2 separate regions of the Homo sapiens genome follow, and region 2 is linked to region 1. The links are contacts of gene promoters, found by promoter capture Hi-C in human tissues and cell types (Jung and others, 2019). All regions are on one chromosome and are shown on one strand. The core of a region is centred on a gene start or on the middle of the fragment in contact, and the rest is flanking DNA. Distances in the headings are between cores, read along the strand shown.

What was found. Contacts are between HindIII fragments. The study calls those that stand out against the background at their distance.
Region 2: a contact is called between a fragment that was not itself captured here and the fragment with the promoter of COLEC11 in region 1, in 1 of the 25 tissues and cell types used here (thymus).

Annotation. Positions count from the first base shown.
Region 1 is chr2:3,591,121-3,598,983 of GRCh38, reverse strand. COLEC11 (collectin subfamily member 11) reads right to left here and starts at 3,872. Exons shown (of 7, transcript NM_024027.5): 1 at 3,816-3,872. The HindIII fragment of the contact is 12,548 bases long and covers 1-7,863 here.
Region 2 is chr2:3,535,705-3,543,567 of GRCh38, reverse strand. RNASEH1 (ribonuclease H1) reads left to right here. Exons shown (of 8, transcript NM_002936.6): 8 at 1-2,138. Among named protein-coding and RNA genes, the nearest start is that of RNASEH1, 19 kb to the left of the region's middle. RefSeq lists enhancers at 7,275-7,569, 6,477-7,676. The HindIII fragment of the contact is 6,767 bases long and covers 419-7,185 here.

The DNA of each region.
Region 1 (7,863 bases), core at 2,623-5,122:
AAGGGATTTTTAAAAATAGGTTTTTGATGGAGAGAACAAGGAGCCAATATACGTTGTATACCAAATGTGGACACATATCTGATTTAATTCCCAAAACAACCTTGTACCTTATTACAGTTCCTCACTCTAAAGACAATGCAATATGGAAAGTTGAACAATCGGCCCCAACTCCACCACCAGGCCACGCAGCTGGGCACTCCGCCTGCAGCCTCCTCTCCACACCCCGCACCCACGGCCCGCCTCCAGCCTCCTCTCCACACCCCTCACCCACGGTCCGCCTCCAGCCTCCTCTCCACACCCCTCACCCGCTGCCTGTGCCCACACCCTTCTCCCCTGTGCTCACGCGGATATTAGAACAATAAGGGCAACCGAAAAGCGGAAACCCAGGACCCCACCAGCTGACTTCACTCCTCCCACCTTCCTTGTTCGCTGCCAGGCTTGGGTCCACATGCAAGTGATCTGTGCAAGCTACAGCTTCGTAAAGGTCTCTGGGCACGCAGAAGCCTGCAGTTTAGCAGGCACCAAACTGAGTGAACAAGTGAATGAGTAAATAAAGGAACAAACAACAGAACGAAAGTTCACAATTGCATCGCAAATAGAGCCTTCTGCTCTTCTCCTCGTGGTGTTTCCGTGTTTCCAAATCTTTATTATATCTAATGTCTACACAGTATTTCCAGGGCAGGCAGTCTGCAGACGTGGGTTACTGCCCTGCTGTCATTGTCCTGAAATTCCTAATAATGTTGAAATGGGCCAAGCACAGTGGCTCACGTTTGTAATCCCACCACTTTGGGAGGCCGAGGTGGGTGGATCACCTGAGGTCAGGAGTTCGAGACCAGCCTGGCCAACATGGTGAAACCCTGTCTCTACTAAAAATACAAAAATTAGCTGGGCATGGTGGCGGGTGCCTGGAATTCCAGTGACTCGGGAGGCTGAGGCAGGAGAATCGCTTGAACCCGGGAGGTGGAGGTTGCAGTGAGTCGAGATCACACCACTGCCCTCTAGCCTGAGTGATAAGAGTGAGACTCAGTCTCAAAAAAATGAAATAAATAAAATAAAATAAAAATAAAAAATACAAAAATAATGTCAAAACAAGGGGCACCACAAGGTTTGTAGCCAGACGTGCTGGTCCACTGGGCTCATAACCGTAGTCTCCCCGGCTCCTGCCTCAGCAGCAGTATTTTGGCTCCTTGTGGTATGTGGCTTCTGAAAGCAATAGTAAACTCTTCCTCCCCACCCACTCAGTACGCAAGTCGAACCTCACTTCTCAGTGTTTGCTGGATGCAAACTGGGTTTAGTTTTTTTTTTTTTTAATGTCTCAGGAATCAAAGGCTGACATGGGAATTTCCCCTCTAGCTAGAAGTGATTCTGTTCAGGTATAACCAGGTGTTCAGCAAGGCTTTTACTGCCCTCACTCCGCAGATGTCCCAGGAGTGGCTTCAACAAAGATCAGGCTCCGTCTCCCAAGAAAAGGGGTGAGTAGTGAGCAGAGAAACCCAGAGCAGCCCAGGCAGGATTTCTCGTGCCTTCACTCACACTCATCTGCTGATCCCAGAGCAGCCCAGGCGGGATTTCTCGTGCCTTCACTCCATTCATCCGCTGACCCCGGAGCAGCCCAGGTGGGATTTCTCATGCCTTCACTCCATTCATTCACTGACACCAGAGCAGCCCAGGTGGGATTTCTCGTGCCTTCACTCACACTCATCTGCTGATCCCGGAGCAGCCCAGGCTGGGATTTCTCGTGCCTTCACTCCATTCATTCACTGACCCCGGAGCAGCCCAGGCCGGGATTTCTTGTGCCTTCACTCCATTCATTCACTGACCCCGGAGCAGCACAGGCTGGGATTTCTTGTGCCTTCCCTCACTTCACTCATCCACTGATCCCCGGAACAGCCCAGGCTGGGATTTCTCATGCCTTCACTCGCTCCACTCATTCACTGACCCCGCTGCCCATTCACAGAGTTTCTGTCCACTTTCCTGCGAGGGGCCCCAGCTAGGCCTATGGGCACAAAGGAGGCACAGGCCCTGCAGCGGGGCGCTCTCAGACGCACAGCAGGAACCAGGGCAGGTAGGCACAGGGTGAGGGCACCCAGGCGCCCGAAGGAGTCTCTGCTTCCCAGAGGTCTCGCCCTCTGACTGCCTTCTTAGAAGAGGAATTCCATTTTGTAAACGGAGAAGCCACAGCTACCCCCAGGACCTCTTTAAGAACAACATCCTTATCTCCCAGCCAGGGCCCAAGACGCTCAGGGCCCTCCCATCAATGGAAGGGGCAGACTTGACAAGCAGGGGAGAGGGGGTTAAACGTGGAATCCTGAGAGGAAATACATGTTATGAATGAAATAAACAATGGGGCCAGGCCCAGTGGCTCATGCCTATAATCCTAGCATTTTGGGAGGCCAAGGTGGGCAGATCACCTGGTTAGGAGTTCGAGAGCAGCCTGGCCAACATGGTGAAACCCCCCTCTCCACTAAAAAGTACAAAAATTAGCCAGGTGCCATGATGCACACCTGTAATCCCAGCTACTCAGGAAGCTGAGGCAGGATAATCGCTTGAACCTGGGAGGCGGAGGTTGCAGTGAGCCAAGACGGTGCCATTGCACTCCAGCCTGGGTGACAGAGCCAGAGTCCATCTCAAAAAAAAAAAAAAAAATGAAATAGACAATGAGAAAAAATCATGGCTTCAGTTGCCAAACATGCTATTCTACTTTTTCATTAAGTATCTACAGCAAGGCCCAGCATCTTACAGGCACCACAAATACCTCCTAAGAACCACATCCCTGAAGCATGAGGAGGTTCCTCTCACTGGGGACTGCCCCAGCCCCACCGCGGTGTTTCCCTCCCTACAGTGACAGAGCACCTTCTGGGGCAGCCTGGATTCCACCCACAACAGCACACGCTCCTCTTAGCTTCTTACCAAGAGCACAGAGTAAGAAGGCACCTATCCTCTCTTATCTTCCCCCAGCGGTCAGCACATTACCGGTGTGCTCTCTTCTACGGTACATGGATTTTTCAAAATTGTAAACAAAATCGAATAGCTGTGAAAGATTGGGGCAGTGCTCTGCCTACCACAGGCAAAGTGCTTCCCATCAAACCAAAATTCCAGCTATGCACATGAGATGGCTTTAAACGTTCATCTTTAAATTGAGAACGACCACATCACCTCAGCTCTAAAAAGACCGCCAGTTCCTAGCGCAAGGCATCCAGGTAGGAGGCAGCGGCCCTAGGAAACTTTCCTCCTTTCCAATTTTGGAGACAAGATGACCCCACTTGGTTTTAGATGACCCCATCTGAACTCAAAGTCTTTCCCTGGAAAGTTGCCAAAGCAAGGCCCACCTTTCCCCCACCTCTCTGATCCCCGTTCCTGAGCCCAACACAGAGCCACTGGTCCCTGGGGGCAGTCGTGGCTGCTGTCCGCCTGGCCCGTCAGACGCTGCTCAGGCTCAGGAACAATCGTCAGGTTGTGAGACCAGGTACTGCACTGCGGTTTGGAATTAGCGAAGACTGTTTAGCCCCCTGGGCCTTGGGCTGTTTGAAATCTGCCACCCAAGAGGGTGACTCCATCATCCAGCACCTCTCATGGGTCGGATCCCATCTCATCAATAGGCTCCACGAATTTCCGCCATGAACTAATCAAACTTTGGAACTCTGGTGCCAGATTTATTGAGACTCAATCTTTTGCCTGGATCTAGGGACAGATTCCCATCCTCCTCGCTCAGCAGGAGCCCACCTCGCGCCCAGTTTGGAAGCCTGCCTGCCTCCCCTCTGCACTGTCATAGCCCCGTGAAACCCTCAGCTGCAGCCCCGGGCAGAGTCTCCTACCTGAGCACGCGCTAGGCGAACGGGGCGTCCTGCCCGTCGCTGGCCCGCGAGGACACTGCCCCCAGGCGCCTCATGGCTGCTATTTAGAGAGGCGGCCGCAGTCCCAGGCGCAGGGAGAAGCCTCGGCCCGGGCCATCAGACAGCCCAGCAAATCAGGCCGCCCGGCCGCAGCGTTATCTCGGGGAGCTTCCTGTCTGCGCTGCGTCCACCGTCCTGCCTGGGGAGTGTGGGAACGCCTGGAACTCCCTGAGGCCGGCTTTGGGGTGGGGGGCAGGACCCTCCTGGAGATGCCCCTGCTAACTCTCCAACCCGAACATCCCAATTTTGTTTCTTTTTTGGCTTTCTCTTCTTTCTTTTCGTTTTTTGAAAAAATAAGCATGACTACTGTGGAAATTCAAAAGAGCATAAAGAGGAGGGACGCTCATCACCTGGCACCAATCAGACAGAAACGAGGGCAGCTGACTGATCTCCTTTCCTTTGTTCATATGGGATTTCGCTTCAAAAGTCAGCAAGAGCTTGACCACGGCCTGTGGAGACCTGGCCACACGTGAGTCCGGAAACTCACTCTACGCATTTAAGTTTCATTTAAAGGCAAGTTTCATTTAATGCCAGAAACAAATGTTAGTCAGGGGCTGGACAGATCCAGCTTCTATGCAGCCCGAATCTTGCATGTTTTGGGGGATAGCGGAACCTTCTTTAAGAAAAAGATACATATAAAATTACAATCATAAGAAGCTAGGTTCAAAGGTGAATATTTATTTAGACTGAGAAATCATAAAATAAAACTGTAAAAACACAAATTCCACACACATAATAAAATTAAGGAAAAATAATGGATTCTTTATTTAAAACGTATTATTGAAGTTATACATAAATTTGACAACTTAGACAAAATGAACCACTTCTTGAAAACACGAACTACAACATGCCCAGCATGAAACAGATAATTCAACAGCCCTATGCCAAGGAAGGGAATTGAACTTGCAATTTAAACGCTCCCCAGAAAGACATTTCAGGGCCAGATGGTTTCACAGGAGGGTCTACAAAACGTTTAAAGAAAAATTAACACCAATTCTACACATCCTCTTCCAGAAAATAGAAGAGGAGGGAATATTTACCAATTCATTTTATAAAGTTGATTATTACCCTGATACCAAAACCAGACAAAGACAGAACAAAAACACTATAGACCAATAACCCTCATGAATATAGATGAGAAAATCCTTAATAAAATATTAACAGACAGAATTCAGCAATATAGAAAAAGATTTATCAACTATGACCAAATGGGGTTTCATCCAGGAATGTGAGGCTATGTCAATATTCAAAGCTCCTTTGATAAAAACCCATTAACAAGCTAACAAAGAAAATCAAATGAATATCTCAATTTATATAGAAACAGCATTTGGCATAAACCAACACCTTTCATGATAAAAACTCTCAGAAAAATAGGTGCAGGGGACCTTCCTCAACTTGATAAAGAGCATCTGTCAAAGGCAAAGCCACAGCTAACATCATACTTCATGGGCAAAAATGGAATGTTTCCTTCCTGAGATCAAGACAAGGCAAGGGTGTCCACTCTTACCTCTTACTCAATGCAGTGCTAAAGTTCTAGGCACACCAGCAGGGCCCGAAAAGGAAATAAACAGCATGTAGATTCGAAAAATAAAATAACTCTGTCCCTTGTTGCAGATGACATGGTTGTCTACTTAGAAAATCCCAGAGTCTACAAAAGAGCTCCTGGAAACTATTAAATCAGTGTGACAGGTGACAGGATACAAGGCAAACATTTAAAAAACCAAGTAGGCCAGGCGTGGTGGCTCACACCTGTAATCCCAGCACTTCGGGAGGCCAAGGTGGGAGGATCACCTGAGGTCAGGAGTTAGAGACCAGCCTGGCCAACAAGGCAAAACCCCATCTCTACTAAAAATACAAAAATCAGCCAGGCATGGTGGTACATGCCTGCAATCCCAGCTACTCGGGAGGCTGACGCAGGAGAATCACTTGACTCCGGGAGGCAGAGGGTGCAGTGAGTTGAGGTTGTGCCATTGCACTCCAGCCTGGGTGACAGAGCGAGACTCTGTCTCAAAAAAATAATAAACAATGAAAAACCAAGCAGATTTCTATAAAATAACAATGAACTCATAGACACCAAAATTCAAAATAATATCATTTACAATTGCTTTAAAAAAGGAATACTTAGGTGTAAATCTAACAAAACATATATAGAACTTACATGCTGAAAACTACAAAATGCTGCTGAAAACCTCAAAAAAGATCTGAATAAACAGAGAAACACGTCGTCTTCATAGATTAGGAGACTCACCCCAAGCACAGTGGCTCATGCCTGTAATCCCAGCATTTTGCAGGGCTGAAGTGGGAGGATCACTTGAGTCCAAGAGTTCAAGACCAGCTTGGGCAACATGGTGAAACCCTGTCTCTAACAAAAACAATACAAAAATTAGCCGGGCATAGTAGAATGGTCCCAGCTACTCAGGAGGCTGAGGTGGAAGGATCACTTGAGCCCGGGAGGTGGATGTTGCAGTTAGCTGAGATCGCACCACTGCACCCCAGCCTGGGTGACAGAGTGGGACCCTGTTTCAAAAATAATAAAATGAAAATTAAAAAGTATAGATTGGGAGACTCAACAGAGTAAAAATGTTGATTCTCCCCCAAGTTAATATACAGTACAAGCTTAACACAATTTCTATCAAAATCATAACAATAATTTTTGTAGATATAGACACGGCTATTCTAAAGTGTATATGAAAAGAGAAAGGAACTAGAATAGCTAAAACAATTTTGAAAAAGAATAAAATAGGAGGAATCAGCTCTCCGTCTCCGTCTCCGTCTCCGTCTCCGTCCCCGTCCCCGTCCCCGTCCCCGTCCCCGTCCCCGTCCCCGTCTCCGTCTCCCTCCATGGTCTCCTTCCACGGTCTCCCTCTGATGCCGAGCCAAGGCTGGACGGTGCTGCTGCCATCTCGGCTCACTGCAGCCTCCCTGCCTGATTCTCCTGCCTCAGCCTGCTGAGTGCCTGCGATTGCAGGCGCACGCCGCCACGCCTCACTGGTTTTCGTTTTTTTTTTTGGTGGAGACGGGGTTTTGCTGTGTTGGCCGGGCTGGTCTCCAGCTCCTAGCCGCGAGTGATCCGCCAGCCTCGGCCTCCCGGGGTGCCGGGATTGCGGACGGAGTCTCGTTCACTCAGTGCTCAGTGGTGCCCAGGCTGGAGTGCAGTGGCGTGATCTCGGCTCGCTACAGCCTCCACCTCCCAGCCGCCTGCCTTGGCCCCCCAAAGTGCCGAGATTGCAGCCTCTGCCCAGCCGCCACCCCGTCTGGGAAGTGAGGAGCGTCTCTGCTTGGCCACCCATCGTCTGGGATATGAGGAGCCTCTCTGCCTGGCTGCCCAGTCTGGAAAGTGAGGAGCGTCTCTGCCCGGCCGCCATCCCATCTAGGAAGCGAGGAGCGCCTCTTCCCCGCCGCCTTCCCATCTAGGAAGTGAGGAGCGTCTCTGCCCGGCCGCCCATCGTCTGAGATGTGGGGAGCACCTCTGCCCCGCCGCCCTGTCTGGGATGTGAGGAGCGCCTCTGCTGGCCGCAACCCTATCTGGGAGGTGAGGAGCGTCTCTGCCCGGCCGCCCCGTCTGAGAAGTGAGGAAACCCTCTGCCTGGCAACCGCCCCGTCTGAGAAGTGAGGAGCCCCTCCGTCCGGCAGCCACCCCGTCTGGGAAGTGAGGAGCGTCTCCGCCCGGCAGCCACCCCGTCCGGGAGGGAGGTGGGGGGGGTCAGCCCCCCGCCCGGCCAGCCGCCCCATCCGGGAGGTGAGGGGCTCCTCTGCCCGGCCGCCCCTACTGGGAAGTGAGGAGCCCCTCTGCCTGGCCAGTCGCCCCGTCCAGGAGGGAGGTGGGGGGGTCAGCCCCCCGCCCGGCCAGCCGCCCAGTCCGGGAGGTGAGGGGCGCCTCTGCCCGGCCGCCCCTACTGGGAAGTGAGGAGCCCCTCTGCCCGGCCAGCCGCCCCGTCCGGGAGGGGGGAGGGGGGGTCAGCCCCCTGCC
Region 2 (7,863 bases), core at 2,553-5,052, 55 kb after region 1:
TCTTTATTTAGCTCAGACTAGCTTATTCGGTCAGTGAGAGGGAGCCTCTTCAGCTTGGCTCTTGCTTTCTTTTGATAAGTGTGCACATGTGTGCATACATGTGTGCACAGACCACACGCACAGTCATTGATAGCTCCCTGCAGCCTGGCATGTCAAGATGCTCTAGGCCCAATTTATAGAGCTTCTGCTCCAAACCTGTCTTAAAAGAAAAACTTTAGACAAGTTAGCAGTTTAATTGAGCAGAAAATAGTTTCTTCAGCTGGGTAGCACTCAGGACCAAAAGTGGTTCAGAACGTTCTCCTGTGCGTTGTGTGCAGGCTGTATTTATTTATAGCCACAGGAAGGGAAAGACACATGTACATGGCCAGACTGACTGCAGGTCAGCCTCCACCTCACATAGGCATGTTTTGGGAGCCTTCAGCATGTGATTGGTGAGACTCTGCTGCTTGTTACAGAAGTGTACTCTCAAGTCAGGTCCCAGTTTGCTTATACATTAAGTGAGGTTATAAGTCACTATGTACAGAGGCAGTTTTAGGCCAAACTTAATTCCGTTTAACACTTGGAATCCATTATTTTTCCCAGAGTCTCTGGTAGAGATGGTATTTCAGATCCAGTTTAGGATGCTCATTGCTATTGCGTTGGTCATTATTTCTAGATTTTTGGACGGAGCTTTAAAAAAATACAAACATTGCACACACATATTTAAAGGAAGAATATTTTCTGAGCCTATATTGATATTCCCAATACAAATTCAGGGTCCTGGGGCCTTTACATAGCCTCCTCTATATGATGTCTGTGTCTCCTGCACTCGGAATCCTGCTTCTCAAGACACAGGACAATGGCATGGAATATCCATCCCTTAATCACTCACTTGTTTTATTCCTCTTTAGCATTTAGCATTTAAAAAAAATACTAATACCATAGCATTAATTGTGATGATGAAAACAGCACTGTGTCTACGTTGTCAGAAAAATTGCTCCTTTTTACCACCATTGACTCATTTCTGTGTGTTCAGGTCTCATAACCAGTCTATAGTCAGTGTCATCTTGGGGACAGTATTCCTTGAGTTTCTGATGTTGAATTCAGTTTTGCTGGATACGAAATTCTTGGCCCAGATTTTCTTTGAGTATCTTGTTTTATTCTGTTTTCTTCCAGCATAAAGTGATGCATGAAAAGCCTGATGAATCTTGTTTTCTTCCCCTGACAGTCATATGCTGTTTTTCCTTAGATGCCCAAAGGATTTTTTCCTTTTTCTGTCAAGTCGGCCGTTTTATTCGAATGTGTCATGTGTTGGTATTGGTTGTCCTGGTCCATATTTGCAAGCGTATGGTGTGCTCTTTCTATGTGTACTTCATATCTGTTATTTTAAGAAGATTTGCTTGAACTGGAGTTTAGTGTTACATTTTTCTTGCTTTGGCTTTTTTCTGTGGGGATCCCTGTTATCTGTATGTTGAAATCTAAATTGGCTGTTCTCAGTGTTTGCCACTGTCTCTTGAATCTCTTTTATCTCTTTCTTTGTTTCTTTTTGAGTTTTAAAAGTTGTTATTGTACCACTTTTGTTTTGTTTTGTTATTTAAAATAGGAACAGTGTCTCACTGTGTTGCCCAGGCTGGTCTTAAACTCCTGGCCTCAAGCGATCCTCCTTCCTTGGCCTCCCAAAGTGCTGGGATTACAGGTGTGAGCCACCAAAGCCGGCCCCACCTTGCTTTTTAAAACAGCTCTGTTGAGGTGTAACTGACAGGTAATGAACTGCACATACGTGAAGTGACCGATGCATTTGCCTGTGAAGCTGTCGCCAGAACATGTCCATCACCACCAACAGCAGTTTCACACCCCGGTCTAAACCGTCCCTCGTGTCCTCCATGTTCAGGCAACCACTGGTCTGCTCCCTCTCACTAAAGGTTAATTTATATATTCTAGAATTTTATCTGAGTGGAATCGCAGAGCAAGTACTGTGGGGGGAGGTGCTTCTACTCAGCATAATTATTTTGGCATTCACCCATTTTGTGTACATCAATAATCCACATTTTGTATTGCATGGATATACCACAGTTTATTTATTTACCTGTTGACCGATATTTCGATTATTTCCAATTTCTAAATAAAAATAAAGCAAATAAAGCTGCCGTGAACATTTATATCCTCGTCTTTGTCTTCTGTTTCTCTTGGGTAAATGCCTTGGAATGGAATGCTTGGTCATATGGCAGGTGTGTGCTCTTTTTTTCTTTTTTTTTTTTTGGAGATGGAGCCTCACTCTGTCACCCAGGCTGGAGTGCAGTGGCGTGATCTTGGCTCACTGTAAGCTCTGCCTCCCGGGTTCACACCATTCTCCTGCCTCAGCCTCCCGAGTAGCTGGGACTACAGGTGCCCGCCACTACACCCGGCTAATTTTTTTGTATTTTTAGTAGAGGTGGGGTTTCACTGTGTTAGTCAGGATGGTCTCAATCTCCTGACCTCGTGATCCGCCTGCCTCGGCCTCCCAAAGTGCTGGGATTACAGTGTGAGCCCAGCCAGCTGGTGTGTGCTTTTTAAGAAACTGTGAAACTTTTCCAAGTGTGAACTTTACACTTTACATTCCCTCCAGTCAGGCAGGAGAGTTCCAGTTCACTCCACATCCTTGTCAACACTTGTCACCTCATTCTGTTACAAATGTCCATAAGTTTTTTGGTTTTGCTGTTTAGTAGTTCTGTTTTTAGGTGGGGATTTGAGAAGATTCAAAAAGCATGCTCCTGCTGCTGCCTCTGTCTTCTGAGAATCTGTGATTTAAAAAAAAAAAAATTGAACCAGAATTGGAAATAGATGAAAAGTTGTGCCTTTAGAAACTTTACGGTCTGTGGGATTTTCACAACACAGATGATGTTGGCTGGGCGCAGTGGCTCACGCCTGTAGTCCCAGCACTTTGGGAAGCTGAAGCAAGTGGATCACGAGGTCAGGCGTTCAAGACCAGGCTGACCAAGATGGTAAAACCCCATCTCTACTAAAAATACAAAAATTACCCAGGCGCGGTGGCAGGTGCCTGTAATCCCAGCTACTCGGGAGGCTGAGGCAGGAGAATTGCTTGAACCCAGGCGGCAGAGGTTGCAGTGAGCCAAGATTGTGCCACTGCACTCCAGCCTGGGCAATAGAGTGAGACTCTGTCTCAAAACAAAAAACAAAAGTGATGTCAGTACAGCAGAAAGTGCATGAAGCCGGAGGGAAGGAAAGGTCCAACCACTTTTAAAGAGGAATCTTAAATTTTTAGGGGGCAATTTTTTTTTTATTAAAAGAAAATATATTACTGAGAATCAAAAAATCAGCTGCATTTTTTATATCTTTAGAAACTTAACAATGATATATAATTGCATCTTCATCAGCTCCAAATCAAAATATTTGAGTGACTGTCATATCAGATTGTGCTACATATTGTGGAATATATAAGCTTTCAACTGGTGCTGCTTTAATAGGATGTTCGTGCCGCACAAATAGAGGCCGTTGAAGAAATGTTCTTTGTGCAGAACTCCCCTCCTGGTGTCTGCCGGTACTGGAGCGTCACGGTGTCACCCCATTGCTGAAGCCTGAAGGTAGCCACTCTGCCATCTTGTAGGACAGGCACAAAAGTGCACGAAGCCGGAGGTCAAACAAAACGAGAAAGAAAAAGCCCTCCTGGCTGGTGGACAGCTTGGGTAACTGTAAATAGGAACCAATGAAAGCTGCACTCCTGATTTCAGGTGATGTTCATTTCAAGTTGAGCAAGTCTGGGCCACAGATGCTGTGGCTGAAAAGGAGGGCCTCGGGGTAGATTTCTGGTCTTTTTCCTAATTCTAATATTCTAGTAGTTCTGGAGCAAGAAGGAATAGGTCACTCAACTAAAGCCCCTTTTTTAATAACGTGATGAGCTGACATTCAGAACTCAGGATGTCATCAGAACAAAACACGTAGCAATGATCGTGGTGGTCGTGGTTCCTCAGTTCGTAAACACTCAGGGGTAACATGGGGAGGGCCGGCTGCATCTGCCTGCATTGTGTCTCCTGGCACACAGAAGGCGTTGACTATGCTGGCCAGCTCGTTCAAGCAGCTTTGGTTCTTAATTGCCCATTGAGAGACAGGAATTGGCACAAGGTGACTCTGATATTGTGTTGACATAAGTATTTGTCAAAGAACAACTTTCATCAAAATACGCCCCCAAATTAAGATTCTTTGGTGATACGGGAAGCCGCCAGTATATGGTGGTAGGGTTTTGGACAAAGACAAATATGAATGAAGTGGGAAACAGGGCAAGTGGACCGCTGTCTCTGCCCGCAGCTGACAGAGCTGTTCTCTAAACCTAAATATGCACAGATTCGTGTATATTAAAAGCAGTACCTCAACAGTAAACAAGGGTCTTTAACCTAGGATTTAACATCCAGCAATCATGAAAGAAGACTACGTATAAATAAAAAGGTTTTGAAGAGCCATAAGCAAAAACAAACTAGGAAAAGAAGTTGCAACTCATATCACAAAGGACTAATTTCCCTAATATATAAGAACTAGAAATTGAAAAAAAACTAACAACTCAGAAGAATGGATTGGCCAAATTGTTTACAGAAAAAGAAATACTCATGGCCCTTTAGGAATGAAAAGATGCTCGGCTTTACTCACGAGAGAATGCAGATTAAAACACCAAGACATCATTTCTCTGTATGATATTAGCAACAGTGCATATGTTGCTGAGGCTGCCTGGAAACGTGTGCTCACCTGTGTTGGTGCTGAGTGCGGATGGGCACCACTCAACACCAGACAGAGGCGTGGCCCACTCTCAGAATTACAAATGCTTTGATGTTTAATCCACCAGTCCCCACTCTGCAGATTGTATGCTGTAGATACACCTTGCACACATAAAAATAAAAGATGACCAGGTTTTTAATATCAGAGAACTGGAAACTATACTGGGACCTGAAGCGGCCGTGGAATAAACAGCGTTAGAGTGACAGACCCCATAAGTACCCACAGACCAGAAGGTGCTCTGGGCACTGTTAAGTGGAAAAAGGAAAGTACCTGATTCATGTTACAGCAGGCTGCCTTTTGTGTCAAAGAGGATAAATAAAAATTCACAAACAGTGAAGTATTACTCTATTACACTGGGAATGGGGAGAGGATGCTGTGGGTGGGAACAGGGCGGTAATGAGACTTGCTGGGGTGTGCGTCTTTGTATGCTATCTTTTTATCTTTTATATATATATATTATATATATTTTTTTGAGATGGAGTTTTGCTCTTGTTGCTCAGGCTGGAGTGCAGTGGTGCCATCTCGGCTCACTGCAACCTCTGCGTCCTGGGTTCAAACAATTCTCTTGCCTCAGCCTCCGGAGTAGCTGGGACTACAAGGTGCCCAACACCACGCCCGGCTACTTTTTTTGTATTTTTAGTAGAGGCAGGGTTTCACCATGTTGGCCAGGCTGGTCTCCGACTCCCGACCTCATGTGATCCACCCGCCTCGGCCTCCCAAAGTGCTGGGATTACAGGTGTGAGCCACTGTGCCCAGCCTGTATGCTATCTTAAAAAAAAAAATTGTTTTAAGACAGTTTCGCTCTTGTTGGCCAGGCTGGAGTGCAATGGTGCGATCTCAACTGACCGCAACCTCCGCCTCCTGGGTTCAAGCAATTCTCCTGCCTCAGCCTCCCGAGTAGCTGGGATTACAGGCATGCACCACCATGCCCAGCTAATTTTGTATTTTTAGTAGAGATGGGGTTTCTCCATGTTGATCAAGCTGGTCGCGAACTCCTGACCTCAGGTGATCTGCCTGCCTTGGCCTGCCAAAGTGCTGGGATTACAGGCATGAGCCACCGTGCCCAGCCAAAAAGATTTTCTTTCATCTTTTTTTTTTTCTTTTGAGACACGGTCTTGCTCTGTCACCTAGGCTGGAGTACAGTGGCGCTGTCAAAGCTTACTGCAGCCTCCACCTCCTGAGCTCAAGTGATACTCCAGCCTCAGCCTCCTGAGTAGCTGGGACTACAAGTGTGTGCCACCATTCCCAGCTAATTTTTATTTTTGTTAGAGCTGGGGTCTCACTACGTTGTCCAGGCGGGTCTTCAACTTCTGGGCTCAAGCAATTCTCCAGCCTCGGCCTCCCAACACGCTGGGGTTAGAGCCATGAGCCACTGTGCCTAGCCTTTTTATATGTTACCTTGATCTTTGAATCATGTTGTAATACCTGTTAATAAATATTTGATAAAAAATATTCGAAAGGTCTGCCTTCAAAGAGGGCAGGTAAAGGGCATCGGTGCTGTGGGACTCTGACCAGCAGAAACCCCAGTGGCCAGGTGGACACATGCTTAGCTGAGGTGTTCAGATCCCACCCCAGTCTTTGCAGCTCCCATCTGCTCTGTGAAACTCTGTGACATGGCACAGTGTGTGTATCTGAGATTCGTATAATATGTAGTGTGCTCCTTTTAGGTAGACAACATGCTTTAACCTAACATTTTGAAACCCAGAAGAAAATTGATGGGGATCACATTTAGGAACTGAATGGATCCCCCAAAATTCATGTCAAACCCCTAATCCCTGGCGTGGCCATTTGGAGAGGGGCCTCTAAGGAGGTACTGGGGTTAAGGTTATAAGGGTGGGGAGGCCCTGACCCGATGGGATGGGTGTCCCTATAAGGAGAGACCCCAGAGTGCTCGTGCTCCCTCCTGCCTGCAGGGGCACTCTCCCGGGACAGACCACGCACCAGCCTCTGCGAGCCAGGAAGGAGCCTCTGCAGAAACGGAACCAGCGGGAACCTTGACCTGAGACTTGCAGCCTCCAGAACTGGGAGAAAATAGATTTCTGTTGTTTCAAGCCCCCGAGCCTGTGGTATTTTGTCCCAGCAGCCTGAGCAGGCTGAAATGGTAGGTTGGGATGCTTGGTAAAGAAAAAAAGGAAATTCTTGTTAAGGGTGTGAAGAGGCATTATTCAAGGGCCCACTCCAGTGAGGTTTTGCAGAAAAGGAGAGAGATGGGGCTCAAATCCGAGTACAGGGATGGGTGGGAGCTGACAGCCCCGGAGCAGGGGTGGGGCCTGTGGACAGAAATTCCTAAGTGGAAACGTCAGGAGTCAGGGTGGGTTTCCCCAAGCAGGCTCAGCAGGATTTGCTCAAACGGAGCCAGCCCAGGACAGAGCCCAAGGTCAGAGCCTGGTCCACGAGGGGACTCGGAGGGGTGGACTCAAGCTTGGTCCCAGAGGGGAGGGGACTCGGAGCGGTGGACGCAAGCTTGGTCCGGGAAGGTCTTTGTCAAGGCCCATTTGTTTTATTTTACAGGGAGGAAACTGCAGCCGAGTCAGCTCCTCTGACTCTAGGCCGACCGTTCTTCCCTGTATGACATGTGACTCACCAGATAAAGCCACACACGTCATTCTTTTAAAATTCTCTACTCTGTGAGTGCAATGAAATTAGTATTTTTCCACAAGTCCTTTCCTTTCTCTAATGTGTAAAGTAAGAGGCAGAGAGATCCTGCTCTAGTCTCTGGGCCCTCCCTCTGCTGGCAATGTTCTTTTTCTGTTTTAACCATCTGAGCAGCACACGACCGCCCTGTCTTGGGGCAGTGACGTGTCTGTGGTCAGTACAGGACCTGGTGCTGGCTCTCTCGTGGCCGGGACCGACAGTGCTCACGCCTGGACCCCGCTGTGTGTCCTACCCTGTTCAGTTTGCCAGCACAGGCTTTTGGTTCCATTTTCAACACATCTCTAGTCTGATCAGCCCTAACCTCCACTGCAGGCTGCGTCCTTCCCTGCCTGTACTAGTGCAGAGCTCCTGGTGGGTTCGCACCTTCTCCCCCAGCTCCTCCCTCTCCAGGTAGCAGCCAGGATGGCACTTTCAAACCATGTCAGATCACGTCGCTGCTGTGCTCAGGACCCTCCCGTGACTTCC